Linked DNA regions of Homo sapiens: region 2 is linked to region 1. Evidence: promoter capture Hi-C in human tissues and cell types (Jung and others, 2019). All regions are on one chromosome and are shown on one strand. The core of a region is centred on a gene start or on the middle of the fragment in contact, and the rest is flanking DNA. Distances in the headings are between cores, read along the strand shown.

Evidence for each region. The method cuts DNA at HindIII sites, captures the fragments that hold promoters and counts their contacts. A contact is called where the count stands out against the background at its distance.
Region 2: the fragment with the promoter of MRI1 here is called in contact with the fragment with the promoter of RAD23A in region 1 in 1 of the 25 tissues and cell types used here (spleen).

What each region holds. Positions count from the first base shown.
Region 1 is chr19:12,942,703-12,950,265 of GRCh38, reverse strand. RAD23A (RAD23 nucleotide excision repair protein A) reads right to left here and starts at 4,404. Exons shown (of 9, transcript NM_005053.4): 1 at 4,246-4,404; 2 at 2,257-2,418; 3 at 1,908-2,089; 4 at 1,714-1,769; 5 at 1,453-1,580; 6 at 1,107-1,185; 7 at 858-991. The coding sequence starts at 4,317. It overlaps CALR (calreticulin), which reads right to left. Exons shown (of 9, transcript NM_004343.4): 8 at 6,637-6,729; 9 at 5,777-6,553. The coding sequence ends at 6,353. RefSeq lists enhancers at 1,788-2,987, 4,303-4,522, 3,934-4,626 and silencers at 3,617-3,911, 3,883-3,942, 3,963-4,152, 4,163-4,242. The HindIII fragment of the contact is 31,996 bases long and covers 1-7,563 here.
Region 2 is chr19:13,760,815-13,768,377 of GRCh38, reverse strand. MRI1 (methylthioribose-1-phosphate isomerase 1) reads right to left here and starts at 3,856. Exons shown (of 6, transcript NM_001031727.4): 1 at 3,658-3,856; 2 at 3,269-3,507; 3 at 2,249-2,424. The coding sequence starts at 3,789. It overlaps YJU2B (YJU2 splicing factor homolog B), which reads right to left. Exons shown (of 10, transcript NM_030818.4): 9 at 5,941-6,079; 10 at 5,089-5,788. The coding sequence ends at 5,310. RefSeq lists enhancers at 2,030-2,659, 5,129-5,645 and a silencer at 3,437-3,486. The HindIII fragment of the contact is 13,832 bases long and covers 1-6,455 here.

The DNA of each region.
Region 1 (7,563 bases), core at 3,155-5,654:
ACCCCAGCAGATCCCCAGGGCCTGGGGCTGAAGCAACCCCAAGCTAATCCTTGCAGAGATCGGGGAGGACTGGGGAGGTCTGTTCTAAGTCTTAGACGTCTAGTCTAGGGAGCACTTTGATGGAGAGTTAATTAAGCCAGCCATGGAGTGTGGCATTCAGAGAGGCCTGGGCTGGCTACATAGATTTGGGGGTTCCCATACAGACTGAAGGCCCCAGGACACTATGAGGGAGGGCTGAGTGCAGATGAAGAACACGACCGACCAGGAGGAGCTGGCAAGGGACTGAGAAGTGAGAGGAGAAGGGTCAGACAGCAGGGTCCTGAGCCAAGACCGGTAGGCACTTCACCGAGAACCCAGAGGAACCTACTTGCACCCAGGGGGCCACTCCCCCACTCTTCCTGTGAACCTTCAAGGGCAAGATGGAGCCTCACTGAGCAGAGTTGTCCCAGAGCCAACTGGGGCACAGCTGTCCTGGGTGACGTCATGCCACCTTACAGACATTTACGCAGCACCATCTGTATGTGAAGCCAGAGCCCCAGCCCAGGACCCCACCCCGAGGCAGGAGGCAGACACACACACTACCAGCTGCGTGACCCTGGGAATGACAGGCTGCTCTAAGTTTCCGGTGTCTTCTTCTGTGGGAGGTGATGTTGACAGCACCCACACCTTACAAGGTGGTTGGGAAGACTGAGAAACCAGGGGGGTCACCAGGTCACAGGAAGCACAGGGGCGTGGGGGAAGCATGTGCTTAGTCCTGCTTTCCGGACCTAGAACGATTCCTACGTGTTATGGACTCTGGTGCCCACAGGGAAGGGAAATGGTGGCTGCCCTAGCTCCCTCTGCCCTTGGGACCACACCTGTAAAAGCTGAGGGTTCTCCTGGCCCAGCTGCTGGAGCAGGGCGGGCAGCAGCGCAGGGTTCTGCTGAATCACCTGCCGCATGTTCTGGAACTGGGGCTGGTCCCGCAGGAACTCCAGGGGGTTCTCTCCTGCTGGTAGTAGGAAGGGGTGCAGTCAGACACCACGCCGGGCTCCTAGGAGCACTGCGGGGTGGAGTGTAATGTGAGTCAGGTACCTGGAGGGCAGATGCGGCATGTGCACACCCACCTGCTTCCGTGGCCGGCTGCTCCGATACCTGGCTCTCCTGGACAGAACCGTGTTCCGGCTCGGGGCTCCCAGGAATTCCCTGTCAGGGGTCCTGTTTAGTTCTAATGCACAGACCTCCTGCTGCCACCCTCCTCCATGCCCTGGCAGGACACAGATGAGGCCTCGGCCCTGCCCTCCAGAGGCCCACCCATCACTCACATCCAGCCTCCTGTGGGAAGCCTTTAGTGGCTAGAATCACTACCCAAAGGCTTTTCAGGGCAGGTTTTGCCTTCCCAACCGCCCATCAGGGCAGTGACGCCCGGGTACTCCCTCAAGGCCTCCCCGGGAGGCGGAAGCCCCACCTCACCGTGAGCAGATACTCCACGGCTCGGTGGGGGTTGTTGTAGCTGGCTCTCAGGGCGGCCACGACCCGCTCTCGCTCATAGCCCATGGACATGATCTCCGTCAGCATCGTCTCATACTCAGAGCCCGTCACTGTGGAGGAAGCAGCAAAGCCTAGGTCACCAGGAAGAGGAAAGGGCAGCTCCCAGGCCCTCCCGCACCCAGACAAGGCCCAGCTGATGGCTGGGGCACCCAGTCACCTCTGCCCTGGGGACCACCCACCCACCTAGCGTGGAGGCCGCGTCTTCCTCTCGCCCGCTGCTACCTGAAGAGGGAACAGAGCTGCAAATTCAAGAGAGAGAAATCGGACCCTGGCTTCTGGCGGCTTGCCCTCCCTCCAGGTGTGTGGGACCACTTATGTGGACGCTGGAATGTGCTAGGAGGACAGGGCCCAAGCTGGGACTGCTGCCCCCGCCTTACCCTGACACAGACTCTGGGGACGTCGTGGGGGCGGATTCCTCTGATGGGCTCTTGTCCTCTCTGGCGGCAGGTGGGGGATGGGACATGCCTGAGGTGGGGGCAGGCGGGAAGGATGTAGAGGACTCTGGGGCAGCTGTGGGTGAGGCCTCTGGGGGTGCTGAGGTACCCTGGCCGGCTTTGGTCTGCAACAGCAAGAAAAAGGGAGCTGGCATCAGCAACCCTATCAGACCCAACAACCCGCTCCGCTGTGGCCCCGCCCTGTTCACAGCTAATCTCTCCTGGGCACACAGGCTCTTTGCCAGCTCCCCAGCTCGTCCACCCACCCTCCCAGCCAGCACACGTCACCCACCTTGGTCACCATGACGACCACAAAGTTCTTCTCATCGATGCGATAGTCCCTGATAGGGACATCGTCACTCAAGATCTTGCCGGCATAGATGAGTTTCTGTCCAGCCACGGGGAAGGCATCACGACCCTTCTCAGCTTCTATCTTCTCCTTTAGCACCTTCACCTAGAGGGAGTGGTACAGACAGTCACTGGAGACCCCAAGATTCTCTTTTCCCTTCTAGTTTAGGACAGAGAAACTGCCAGCCCTGATGGCAGAAAGGCAAGCACGCTGGGTTTTTTAAGCTTTCTCAGCATCTAAAGCATGCTAGATTTGAATTCATTCAATCATCATGCCATTCAACACAGTATTTACTTATACTAAACACCCATTATGTGCCAGGTGCTGTTTTAGACACAGAGGCCACAGCACAGAACAAACTCAACACAAGTAAGTCCCTGCTCTCAATGAGAGAACACTAATGTGAAGAAAATGTAATTTCGGGTAGTATAAAGTATAATTAACAGAATAAAGGGGACAGTCCCCCACTCTACACTCTACCTTGGACAATAAGTGACTAATAGTTAATAGTGATATTTTTTAATTTTAAGAGGCAGGATCTCGCTGCCGCCCATGCTGGATTGATGTGGCACGATCATCGCTGACTGCAGCCTCAAACTCCTGGGCTCAACTGGTACTCTTGTCCAGCCTTGGGAGTAGCTAGGACTAAAGGTACACACCACCACTCCAGACTAATTAAAAATAATTTTTTTTTGTAGATAAGAGTCTCCCTATGTTAGACTGGCTGGTCTCAAACTCCTGGCCTCAAGCAATCCTCCTGCCTCTGCCTCCCAAATCATCAGGATTAGAGGCATGAGCCACCGTGCCTGGCCAATAGTGCTACTGTAAATGTATATGTGTCATACCTTTTAAGTTTCCTATGAAATACGTTTAATTGGTCTCATTTTATTTATTGATTTTTGTTTCTTTTTTTTGTAGAGAACGGGGTCTCACTGTGTTGCCAGGATGATCTCGAATTCCTAGGCTCAAGGGCTCCTCTTCCCTCTGCCTCCCTAAGTGCTGGGATTACAGGCGGAAGCCAGCAGGCGACCGGTTCATTTGATATTTGAGAAAACGGAGGCACAGACAGGTAGGCAGGTTAACTTGCCCAAAGCCAAACACTTGAGCGGATCAAAAAATGTGTGTTTCCTTTTCTACAAAAAGTGGACTTCAATGTCTCCCTCACTATGCAAAAAGCGCCAAGTACCCAATAGACATTCAGTATGTTTGAATTAGGTCCTAATTCTACTTTTGACTAAAAAGGCAGCATAATATTTATATCGTGGACGCTCACACGAGGCAGAACCGAATTTGAATCCCAGCTCTGCCATTACTTGTGTGTGACTGTGGCAAAGTTCCTCAATCCCTAGGTTTCCACATCTGTAAAATGATCAGAGGTCCCCAATGACAAGCCCGTTTTGCAGAGCGGTAAAACAACACTACAACACTCGGTGACTGATAAAAAGTAAACGGCCAACAAACACGGACCACCAAAATTATAAAGACTGAGACCCGTTTATTATCATTAACATCGTTGTTGTCGTCACTACTCAGTATCTCCTGGTCATTACTCCTAGATTCGACCACCAGTGTCCCAAGGAGACGCCTGCAAAGCTGGGAACGTGGAGCCCAGTCTTGGAGAGCTTGGCCTGCCCAGGAATCCGAGCTTGTGACTCCCGCGCCCCGCGAGAGCGCTGACATTGGAGCCGGGGCCTGGCCAGCGCCCCGGGGGTGGGGCCTCGCCCGGAGACCGGCGCAGGAGCGCCGCCCGATCGGCTGGGGGCTGGGCCAAAGACCATCGGGGGGTCCAGGAAAGTCGGGCAGGTCGGGGGTCTGGGCAGGGCCGACCCGCGCCGTCCTCCCTGCCCCTCCCGTTGGGATTCTAGCCTCCCCGCCCCCACCCCACCCCCGAAACCCGTCGCTCCCGCCCCCGGGCTCCGGCCCGGCCCGCACCGTCTCGTCAGGCTCCATGCGGATCTTGAAGGTCTGCTGCTGCAGCGTTTTGAGCGTGATGGTGACGGCCATGGCGGGGCCCGAGCGACGCGGCGGCCCCGGGATCCTCACACAACATGCAACTCACGCCGCCGCCATCTTAGCGCCCAGGCGCGCCGCGCCGCGCGCCGACCACTTCCGGGGCAGGCAATGCGCGCGCTGACCACCGGCGCACGTGACCTGCGCACTCCCTCCTTGGCCTTTGTGGGCATGCGCACGAGCGCGTTCTCGAGCGAGGCACGCGCAGACTAAACTCCGCGCTGTGGGCGGGGCTTCTTGCTCGGCCCGCACACGTGGTCTCCTGAGTGACGCCATGCCCGTTATCGGTGACGTCACGGGGCTGCAAAGTGACTCTGGTGTCCCCACTCTCACGCTCAAATGAATTTTTAACAAAGTTTTTATGTACCTGTACTGGTTACAGACATTTGTATTTCTTCTGTAAAAACCTCATTTTGCCTCTTCCAAATGAGAATTTTTTCTTTCAAACAGTCTCTGTCACCCAGGCTGGAGTGCAGTGGCGCGATCTCGGCTCACTGCAGCTTCCGCCTTCCGGGTTCATGCAATTCTCCTGCCTCAGCCTCCCGAGTAACTGGGATTACAGGCACCCCCCACCACGCCCGGATAATTTTTTGTATTGGGTTTCACCGTGTTGGCCAGGCTGGTCTCAAAACTCCTGACCTCAGGTGATCCACCCGCCTCGGCCTCCCAAAGTGCTGGGATTACAGGCGTGAACCACCGTACCCGGCCCCCAAATGAGTTTTATTCTGGTCTGGGTATCCTGGCAGGAACCCTTGTAGAGCAGTCAAAGTGAAAGTTACTCAAAACTAGAAATACCTGAAAGGCCACCAAGCACAGAAAAAAAACCTTAAGTTGGAAGCGGGGGCAAGGTGCCATTTTGTAGCCTCATTCATTCTTTAGGGATCTGGAGTTTTGGAATGAACCTACAATTTTCATTCTTGGGTCTCCGGGCAGGAGTACTTTGTTGTACTATACCTAATCTGACCCCAGAAGTATTTAAAGATGTTAACTTTCAAAGCCTCACTACATTAAATACAGAATTCTCCCTTGGATCTACCAGTCCTGGAGGCATCCCAGAGGGGTTGGGCTGAGCCACAGGACCCCAAAGGAATAGAAGCATGAAAAAGGCCAGTTTAAGGGGCAGGGTGAACCAGATTGAGCCACTGTACGCCAGCCTGGACAACAGAGCGAGAGTCTATCTTAAAAATAAATAAATAAGCAGAACCAAAACTTACCAGTTAGGTTCAAGGATTCAGTAAGTTAGTATGTGGAGTATTTACAGCAGCAACAGCCATTCCCCCGTTGGTTTTGAGGGTTATGGGGTAAATAAGGGTCCCTGGAATCTTGTGGAACACTCAGCAACCTCTCTAGCAATAGCTGAAAAAGGAGATATACTGGAAACCCCCCCCCCCCCCAAAAAGACCACTGCTGGGTTTCCTTAAGTCTGTCTTTCCCCAGAAGGAGACACAGGAGGGAGACACAAAATTTAATTTAATAGAAATTTTGTTTGTAGTTCTTACATTCTCAGTGTGAGCCAATCTGGGACCCACTGCCCCACCCAGAAGTGGCCCAGTCCTGGGGGCAGGGGAGAAAGGGAGGGGTGAAATGAGAAGAGCCCCGTTCTTCCTCAGTGCTGGGGGGTTGGAGACACCACCCCCTTCTGCTGCCCTCCTCTGGGCTCCAGGAAGGAGAGCAGATGAAATCTCAGGCCTGTGGCTTCTCCACACCACTGCCCCCCAGGTTGGAGGGGAGCTAAGAGATGAGAGAAGGGGACAGAGGCAAGAAAAGATGTTGATCAAGAAAGATGAGAACCAGGGGTGAGGGCTGAAGGAGAATCAAAGATAAAATACCAGTTTAAAAAAAAAAAAAAAAAAGGGCGGGGAGGGGGTGGGGGAGAGTGGAGGAGGGGAACAAAACCAAAATCCACCCCAAATCCGAACCAGCCTGGAAAAAAATGAAAGTTCTCGAGTCTCACAGAGACATTATTTGGCGCGGCCAGCTCTGCGGCAGGAGCGCTCAGGCCTCAGTCCAGCCCTGGAGGCAGGCCTCTCTACAGCTCGTCCTTGGCCTGGCCGGGGACATCTTCCTCCTCATCTTCCTCCTTGTCCTCCTCATCCTCCTCATCCTCATCTTTGTCCTCATCATCCTCCTTGTCCTCTGCCTCCTCCTCCTCTTTGCGTTTCTTGTCTTCTTCCTCCTCCTTAAGCCTCTGCTCCTCGTCCTGTTTGTCCTTCATTTGTTTCTCTGCTGCCTGCAGGCAGAGCACACACCTCAGGGCCTTGCCCCCTGCCAGCCCTGCCCGCCCCCGACATCAGGACCAGGACCAGGCCTCACCTTTGTTACGCCCCACGTCTCGTTGCCAAACTCCTCAGCGTATGCCTCATCGTTGGTGATGAGGAAGTTGTCAAAGATGGTGCCAGACTTGACCTGGAGGATGAATGGGAAGGATGGTCAGAGGTGATACCCGATAGCCCTTGCTTTGGACAGGGTTTCCACCTGTGTTCCTATAACCACTATATTCTGCTGCCTGCATCTGCAGAGAAGACAAGGAACACCGCTGACACTGCAGTTAAAAAGATGGAGAGGCCAGGTGAGGTGGATCACGCCTGTAATCCTCGCCCAGAGGCCAAGGTGGGCGGATCACGAGGTCAGGAGATCGAGACCACCCTGGCTAACACGGTGAAACCCCGTCTCTACTAAAAATACAAAAAATCAGCCAGGCGTGGTGGCAAGTGCCTGTAGTCCCAGCTATTTGGGAGGCTGAGACAGGAGAATGATGTGAACCCAGGAGGCGGAGCTTGCAGTGAGCCAAGATCGTGCCACTGCACTCCAGCCTGGGTGACAGAGTGAGACTCCATCTCCAAAAAAAAAAAAAAAAAAAAAAAAGATGGAAAGATGGAGAGACAGCCAGGGACGGGACGGGCTCATGCCTGTAATCCCAGCACTTTGGGAGGTCATGGCGAACGGATCACTTGAGGCCAGGAGTTCGAGACCAACCTGGGCAACATAGTGAAACTCTGTCTCTACTAAAAAAAATTAGCCCGGGGTCTGTGATGGCGCATCCCTGTAATCCCAGCTACTCAGGAGGCCGAGGCAGGAGAATCGCTTGAATCTGGGATGCAGAGGTTGTGGTGAGCCGCCGAGATTGCATCATTGCACTCCAGCCTGGGCAACAAGAGTGAAATTCCATCTCAAAAAAAAAAAAGCCCAGCGTCGTGGCGCATGCCTGTAATTCCAGCTGCTCGAGAGGATGAGGCATGA
Region 2 (7,563 bases), core at 2,607-5,106, 820 kb before region 1:
GCATAGCTCCGTTTCACGTCTGTTTAAAGGACACCTTCTCGGTGAAGCCTTCCCTGATATATCAGTTTTGCATAGCAATCCCCACACTTTCAGTTTCCTGCTCTCTGTCCTTAGCATTTATCACCTTCTAACACCTCATGTGTACAGGCAGCCCCCCTTTTCTATGGGTTCTCCATCCATGGACTCAACCATGTGGATTGAAAATATTTGGGCTGGGCGTGGTGGCTCACGCCTGTAATCCCAGCACTTTGGGAGGCCTAGGCAGATGGATCACGAGGTCAGGAGATCGAGACCATCCTGGCTAACACGGTGAAACCCCATCTCTACTAAAAGTTCAAAAAATTAGCCGGGCGTGGTGGCGGGCACCTGTAGTCCCAGCTACTCGAGAGGCGGAGGCAGGAGAATGGCGTGAACCTGGGAGGCGGAGCTTGCAGTGAGCCGAGACTGCGCCACTGCACTCCAGCCTGGGCAACAGTGCAAGACTCTGTCTCAAAAAAAAAAAAAAAAAAAAAAAAAGGAAAGAAAGAAAATACTTGAAAAGAATCGCTGGAACCCAGGAGGCAGAGGTTGCAAGGAGCCAAGGTCGTGCCATGGCACTCCAGCCTGGGTGACAGAGCAAGACTCTGTCTCCAAAATAAATAAATAAATAAAAAGCAATCCTCCCATCTCAGTCCCCTCCCGAATAGGTGGGACCACAGGTGCATACCACTACACCCAGCTAATTTTAGTATTTTTTGTAGAGATGGGGTTTTGCCATGAAGCCCAGGCTGGTTTTGAACCCCTGAGCTCAAGCGATCCGCCCACCTTGGCCTCCCGAAGTGCTGGCATTACAGGCTTAAAAATAGAGACAGGGTCTTGCTGTGTTGCAAAGGCTGGTCTAGAACTTCTGAGTTCAAGCAATCCTCCCACCCCAGCCTCCTGATTACAGGCCTGCACCGCCACTACACCTAGCCAGTAACAACAATTTACATAGTATTTACATGGGACTAGCTATGATATGCAATCTAGACACGATTTAAAATATAGGGGTGGGCTGGGCACTGTGGCTTACGTCTGTAATCCCAGCACTTTGGGAGGCCGAGGCTGGCGGACCGCCTAAGGTCAGAAGTTCGAGACCAGCCTGGCCAATGTCGTGAAACCCCGTCCCTACTAAAAATATAAAAATTAGCTGGGCGTAGTGGCTCACGCCTATAATCCCAGACACTCAGGAGGCTGAGGCATGAGAATCTCTTGAACCCGGGAAGCAGAGGTTGTAGTAAGCTGAGATCATGCCACTGCACCAGCCTGGGCGACAGAGCAAGACTCTGTCTCAAAAAAAAAAAAAAAAAAAAAAAAAAAAATATATATATATATATATATATATATATATGTGGATGTGCATAGGTCATGCAAATATGATGGCATTTTTATATCAGAGACTTGAGCATCCATGGATTTTGGTATCTGTGGGAGGTCCTGGAACCAGTCCCCCACAGATATTGAAGGATGACTGTACTTATTTTGCCTGTTGACTGTTCCTTCTGCTTCCCTGGGACCCCTGAGAGCAGAGATTTTGTCTGTTTTGTTCACTGCTGCGTCCCCAGCAAATGGCGGTGTCTGAGCCACAGCAGGTGCTTACTAAATGCTGGGTGAGTGAATGAATCAAAGGCAGAGGTCTTTCCATTAAGGCCTCAGTTCCCAGGGATGAAGGTGGGACTCAGGCAGGTAGGGAAATTTCCTGGTGAATTTAGGGTCAAGTGGAATCTGCTGCCTTGGCCCCCTACAGCCCACTCCCCCTGTCTCCTGGTCACAGCTACCTAATCTTTCTCTGCTCACTCCCTTCTCCCCAGTTCCTCCTGGAGTCCACGTCCTGCCCTGGCTCTAGGCATATGGCTCAGGCGGGGCCCATCGAATGACTGCTCTGGGATGGGCAGGTGCCCTAGTGGACCCCCTGAGATACAAGGAGACTTTTCTAGTATAGGAGGCTCTTTTCCTCATGATTTGGACCCTAACAGCCGCCTGCCAGCCCATGGAACCTGAAGATGAAGGAGGGCAGAGCTGAAGCACAGAGATAGATAGGTCCTGATGCTACTGGTTGAGCCCCTTGATCTTGCCATACCTGAAGCCAACTGTATAAGTGTTTCCGTACTAGAACTAGTACCTTCCCATTTTTTTTGTGGATAAAGTGGTTTGGGTTTGGGATTCTTTCTCTTGTATCTAAAAAAGTTCCTAGAAGGCCCTCCCCTACCCCCTGAGGAGGCCCTCTCACCTAGGGCTGTACCATAGCCAGCGGTGGCCAGAGCACCAGTGTTACAGTGGGTCAGCACAGTCACCTTGCCACCGCTGGGGGCCACCCGCTCCAGGAGGTGGCGGGCTCCTAGGTCCCCAATGCTTCGGTTGTCTCTGAGGTCTTTCTCCAGCATGTCCTCGGTGCAGCAGATCACTCTGGGGTGACAAGGAGTTTTCAGCACCAGCCACCAGGACCCGGGGCCCAGGCCAACGCCTCCTCTCTGCCTAACGCTGCTGTCCTGGAGCCCTCCTGCTCAAAGCCTCTCATTGCTGTGGGGCCTGGACCCTTCGGCCAGGGCCACCGAAGTGTCACTCCGTTCATTCATGCAAAGACATGTTTACCAAGCAGTTCCGGTATGACCCAGCAGTAAACAAGACAAAAATCTCTGCTCCTGTGGAGTTGACACTGGGGTGAGTGAGCCAGCTGATGAAGAGATAATAAAATGAAGGAAAAGCCGGCAGAATCAGGCAACAGAGAGCAGCGGGTGAGCTGGATCATATAGAATGGTGGAGGAGGGCGCTATGGATACCTGGCCCGCACCAATGGCACGTGCAAAGGCTGTAAGGCAGGCTCGAGCTTGGTGGGGTAAAGTGACATTGCAGGGAGGGCTGGAGCAGAAAGGAAGTGGGGGGAAAAAGATGGCAGGAAGGGGACCAGGACAGGAAAAAAAGTTCCTCAAAAGCAGAAACCAAGAGAACACGGAGATACTAAAAAGGGCCTCCAAGGGCGGATAAGGGGCTGCGTGTATTCAGGGGAGGCACGATTAAGGAGTTAGGTTTCAGGGCCAGGCTGCCCAGGCTAGACTCTGGGCCCCATCTGTGGGGCCCTGGACAAGGGACTTAAGGTCGCCGTGCCTCAGTCTCCCCATCTGTGGGGCCCTGGACAAGGGACTTAAGGTCGCCGTGCCTCAGTTTCCCCATCTGTATAGTGGGTCACTGTACTTAAAAAGAGTCAATATAATTCCTGCTCAGCGCCGTGCCTGGTACCAGATCCCCGTACCTCTCCCGGACCGCCTCTTCCGTAGCGCCCTCCCGTTCGGCCTCCCGGGCTGCAACATCAGCCAGGTCGCGGGCGGCGCGGGCCATGTTGACAGCGGTGGGCCGGGCGGTGACGAGGAAGCTCAGCTTGTCGCGCACGAAGGCCACGAGCGCGGCGAGTCCCGGTCCCCCGGCGCCCGCCTGCAGCTCCACGGCGAGGCTGAGACAGCCCACCAGGGCTATGGCCGGGGCGCCCCGCACCTGCGGGGCAGGGATTTGGGCGTCGGAAGCTGCAGGCGCGGGCGCACTCCCACCTCCAACCCGGCCGCCCCGCCGCCCCGCCGCCCCGCCGCCCCGCCGCCCCGCCGCCCCGCCGCCCCGCCGCCCCGCCGCCCCGCCGCCCCGCTGCACCTTCATGGCGCGGATGGCCTCCCAGGCCTGGTGCACCGAGCCCACCGCCTCGTAGCGGCTCTGCTTGGGCAGCAGCAGCTGGTCTAGGATCTGCAGGGAGCCCCGCGAGTAGCGGATCGCCTCCAGGGTCATGGTGCAGCAGCCAAGCCCAGCGCAACTCAGAGGGAGCTAGGGGTCCGCGCGCACTTGGGAGCGGGGCGGGGCCGTGGGCGGAGCCTCCCCCGGAAAAAGAGACACGCACATGCGCATCCAACCCGATTCCACGGGTTCCCAGGAGGCGGATTCCACGGGTTCCCAGGAGGCGGATTCCACGGGTTCCCAGGAGGCGGATTCCACGGGTTCCCAGGAGGCGGATTCCACGGGTTCCCAGGAGGCGGATTCCACGGGTTCCCAGGACGCGGATTCCACGGGTTCCCAGGACGCGGATTCCACGTGGCCGAACCCACTCCACGACTCCTGCCAAGCCCGAACGGAGTGAGCCGCCTCCTCGGAACCACAAAAGTGGCAGCATTTATGGGACGCCTAGTGGATACCAGGCCCCGTGTTTAACAACCTGCTGTCTAGAGTTAGGGATGTATCCCCAGTGGCAAGGTAACATCAAGTGTTCAAACCAAAGAATTTGTTAAATGATCTTCCAAGGTTGAGGGGGAGGTAGTGGGGGGTCGTGTGCCCCTTGATGGATGCAAGGCTGTTTCTGGGCCATTTTCTGCTCGGTTTCATTCAAAAGTAACATGCAGGACAGGCGCTGTGGCTCACGCCTGGAATCCCAGCATTTTGGGAGGCCGAGTCGGGCAGATCACTTGAGGTCAGGAGTTCGAGACCAGCCTGGCCAACATGGTGAAACCCAGTCTCTACTAAAAATACAAAAAATTAGCTGGGCGTGGTGGCGCACACCCGTAGTCCCAGCTGCTCGGGAGGCTGAGGCAGAAGAATCACTTGAACCCAGGAGGCAGAGGTTGCAGTGAGCCGAGATCGCGCCACTGCACTCCAGCCTGGGTGACAGAGCAAGACTCGGTCTCAAAAACAAAACAAAAAAACCCCAAAAGTAACATGCACGGGGGGCTTTTCCATGGGCCACCCCTGGGCTGGGTATAATAAAAAGCTCACACCTGTGTGCTCCAGCCCCTGCTGCATCTGGCACACATCCTGGGTACCCCGTGTGCCTTGTCCCTGGCCTTGTGTGTGTGGTTCCTGGCCCCCTTTTCACCCTTCACACTTGGCCCATGCCTCCTCCTCCAGGAAGTCTGTCCTGATTCCTGGCCAACCGGGACCACCACCTTGAGACTCTTGTTACTCTGGAAGGGGACCATGTCTGTGGTCACAGCTATGACCCTATACCAGCATTTGCTGATGAGAGGCCTACCAAGCTTGGTCAAGGTGGGGGGGTGGGGGGGCAGCCCCAGGGTCCATCTAACAACCCAAGACAGGGAAGAAGAGACAGGTCTTTAATGTACGGAGTCTCACAAGGCACAAACACCCTCACCAGGACCAAATAAATAACTCCACGGTTGCAGGAAGGCGCGGTCTGGGGAGGATGCGGCATCTGAGCTCTCCCAGGGCTGGTGGGCGAGCCGGGGGTCTGCAGTCTGTGAGGGGCCTCCTGGGTGTGTCCGGGCCTCTAGAGCGGGTCCAGTCTCCAGGATGGGGATCGCTCACTCACTCTCCGAGTCGGAGTAGTCCGCCACGAGGGAGGAGCCGAGACTGCAGGGGTGCCGCGTGTCGGGGGTGTCAGCTGCCTCCTGGGAGGAGCCTGCTGGCGACAGGGGCTTGTCCTGACGGCTCCCTTCCTGCCCCCTCGGGCTGCTGCACTTGGGGGTCTCAGTTGTTTCCGGAGGACAGTCTCCGGGGGACATGGGCCGGTCCTGGGCAGCCTCCTCTGGTACCCGCGGTTCCCCAGACTTGGGGGTGTCGGCCGCATGCTGGGGGCTCTCCGGGACGTCCCGAGACCTCCGCCGCACGATGCCCAGGTCCCCGACGGTGATGGGGGAGGTGGCAAGCGCGGTTCTGCGGCTCTGTGCCAGCTTCTTCAGGACGCCGCTGACCTTGCTGCTGGAGGCGGATCCGGGGGCAGAGGGGAACCAGGAGCGGCTGATGATCTCGGTCCGCTTGAGTTTCTGCTTGTCCTCGTAGGCTAGAGGAGAGGAGAGGACATTTCAGGGGCGGCAGGGGAGGGGGTCCAGAACTGCCCTCTGGTAGACCAGAGTCCACTCATGGCTGAGGACCCCCCATCTCCAGGCAACTCTGAGCCTCCCTGTCCCCTTTTCCCCCTGGCCTCCTACGCACAGTCCAGGGTGTGGAACTTCAGCAGAGCCGCCAGCTTGCGGTCATCTTCCGTCTCGGGCACCAGCGGGATGGTCAGGCTCGCCTTGGCCTGCAAGGCCTGGTCTCTCTCCTCCTCCTCCTGGATGGCTTTTTTCTTTTCCTGTGTTGAGGGCCAAGAACACCAGAGATAGGGGGTGTCAAAGCCCTGTCTCTTCTGTGTACTAGGGGGCACTGCTCCAACTCTCGGGGTCTCATTTACTCTTTTTGAGACAGTTTCATTCTGTCGCCCAGACTGGAGTGCAGTGGCACAATCATAGCTCACTGCAGCCTCGAACTCCTGGGCTCAAGCGATTCTCTCATGTCAGCCTCCCAAGTATCCAGTACTACAGATGTGCACCACCACGCCCAGCTAATTAAAACATTTATTTTTGTAGAGACTGGGCCTGGTAGTTCATGTCTGTAATCCCAGCACTTTGGGAGGCTGAGGCGGGTGGATCCCTTGAGGCCAGTAGTTTGAGACCAGCTTGGCCATCAAGGCAAAATCCTGTCTCTATTAAAAATATAAAAATTAGCCAGGCATGGTGGCATGCGCCTATGGTCCTAGCTACTTGGGAGGCTGAGGCATGAAAATCACTTCAACCGGGGAGGTGGAGGTTGCGGTGGGCTGAGATCGTTGTCACTGCACTCCAGCCAGGGCGAAAGGGGGGAGACTGTTTCAAAAAAAAAAAAAAATTTTTTTTTGTAGAGATGGGGTCTCACTATGTTGCCCAGGCTGGTCTCCAACTCATGGCCTCAAACAATCCTCCCACCTGAGCCTCCCAAAGCACTGGGATTACAGGTGTGAGCCACCACGCACGGCCTCATCCCACAAATATTTCTGGGATACCCACCTTGTGCTAGGCTTTGTTCTGGACACTCGGCATACAGTGGCAGGCAGGGAAAAACCCTTGCCCTGGTGGAGCTGGCCTCTAGTGGTGAGACAGTGATAAGGAGAAAAAAAATGCAGGACAGGTGGGTAGGGGATGGGCTGGGCGGTTCCATTTATTTTTTAATTTAGTTTAATTCTATATTTTTTTGAGACAAGAGTCTTGCTCTGTCGGCCAGGCTGGAGTGCAGTGGCACGATCTCAGCTCACTGCAAACTCCACCTCCCAGGTTCACGCCATTCTCTTGCCTCAGCCTCCCAAGTAGCTGGGACTACAGGCACCCGCCACCACACCTGGCTAATTTTTTTTTGCATTTTTAGTAGAGACGGGGTTTCACCATGTTAGCCAGGATGGTCTCGATCTCCTGACCTCGTGATCCGCCTGCCTCAGCCTCCCAAAGTGCTGGGATTACAGATGTGAGCCACCGCGCCCAGCCAAGAGGTTCCATTTAAAATGTGGTGGCCAGGTCAGATGCAGTGGCTCACGCCTGTAATCCTAGCACTTTGGGAGGTTGAGGTGGGTGGATCACATGAGGCCAGGATTTCGAGACCAGCCTGGCCAACATGGTGATACCCAGTCTCTACTAAAAATACAAAAATTAGCCATGCACAGTGGTGGGAACCTGGAATCCCAGCTACTTGGGAGGCTGAGGCAGGAGAATTGCTTGAACCTGGGGTGGAGGCTTCAGTGAGCCGGGATCATGCCACTGCACTGCAGCA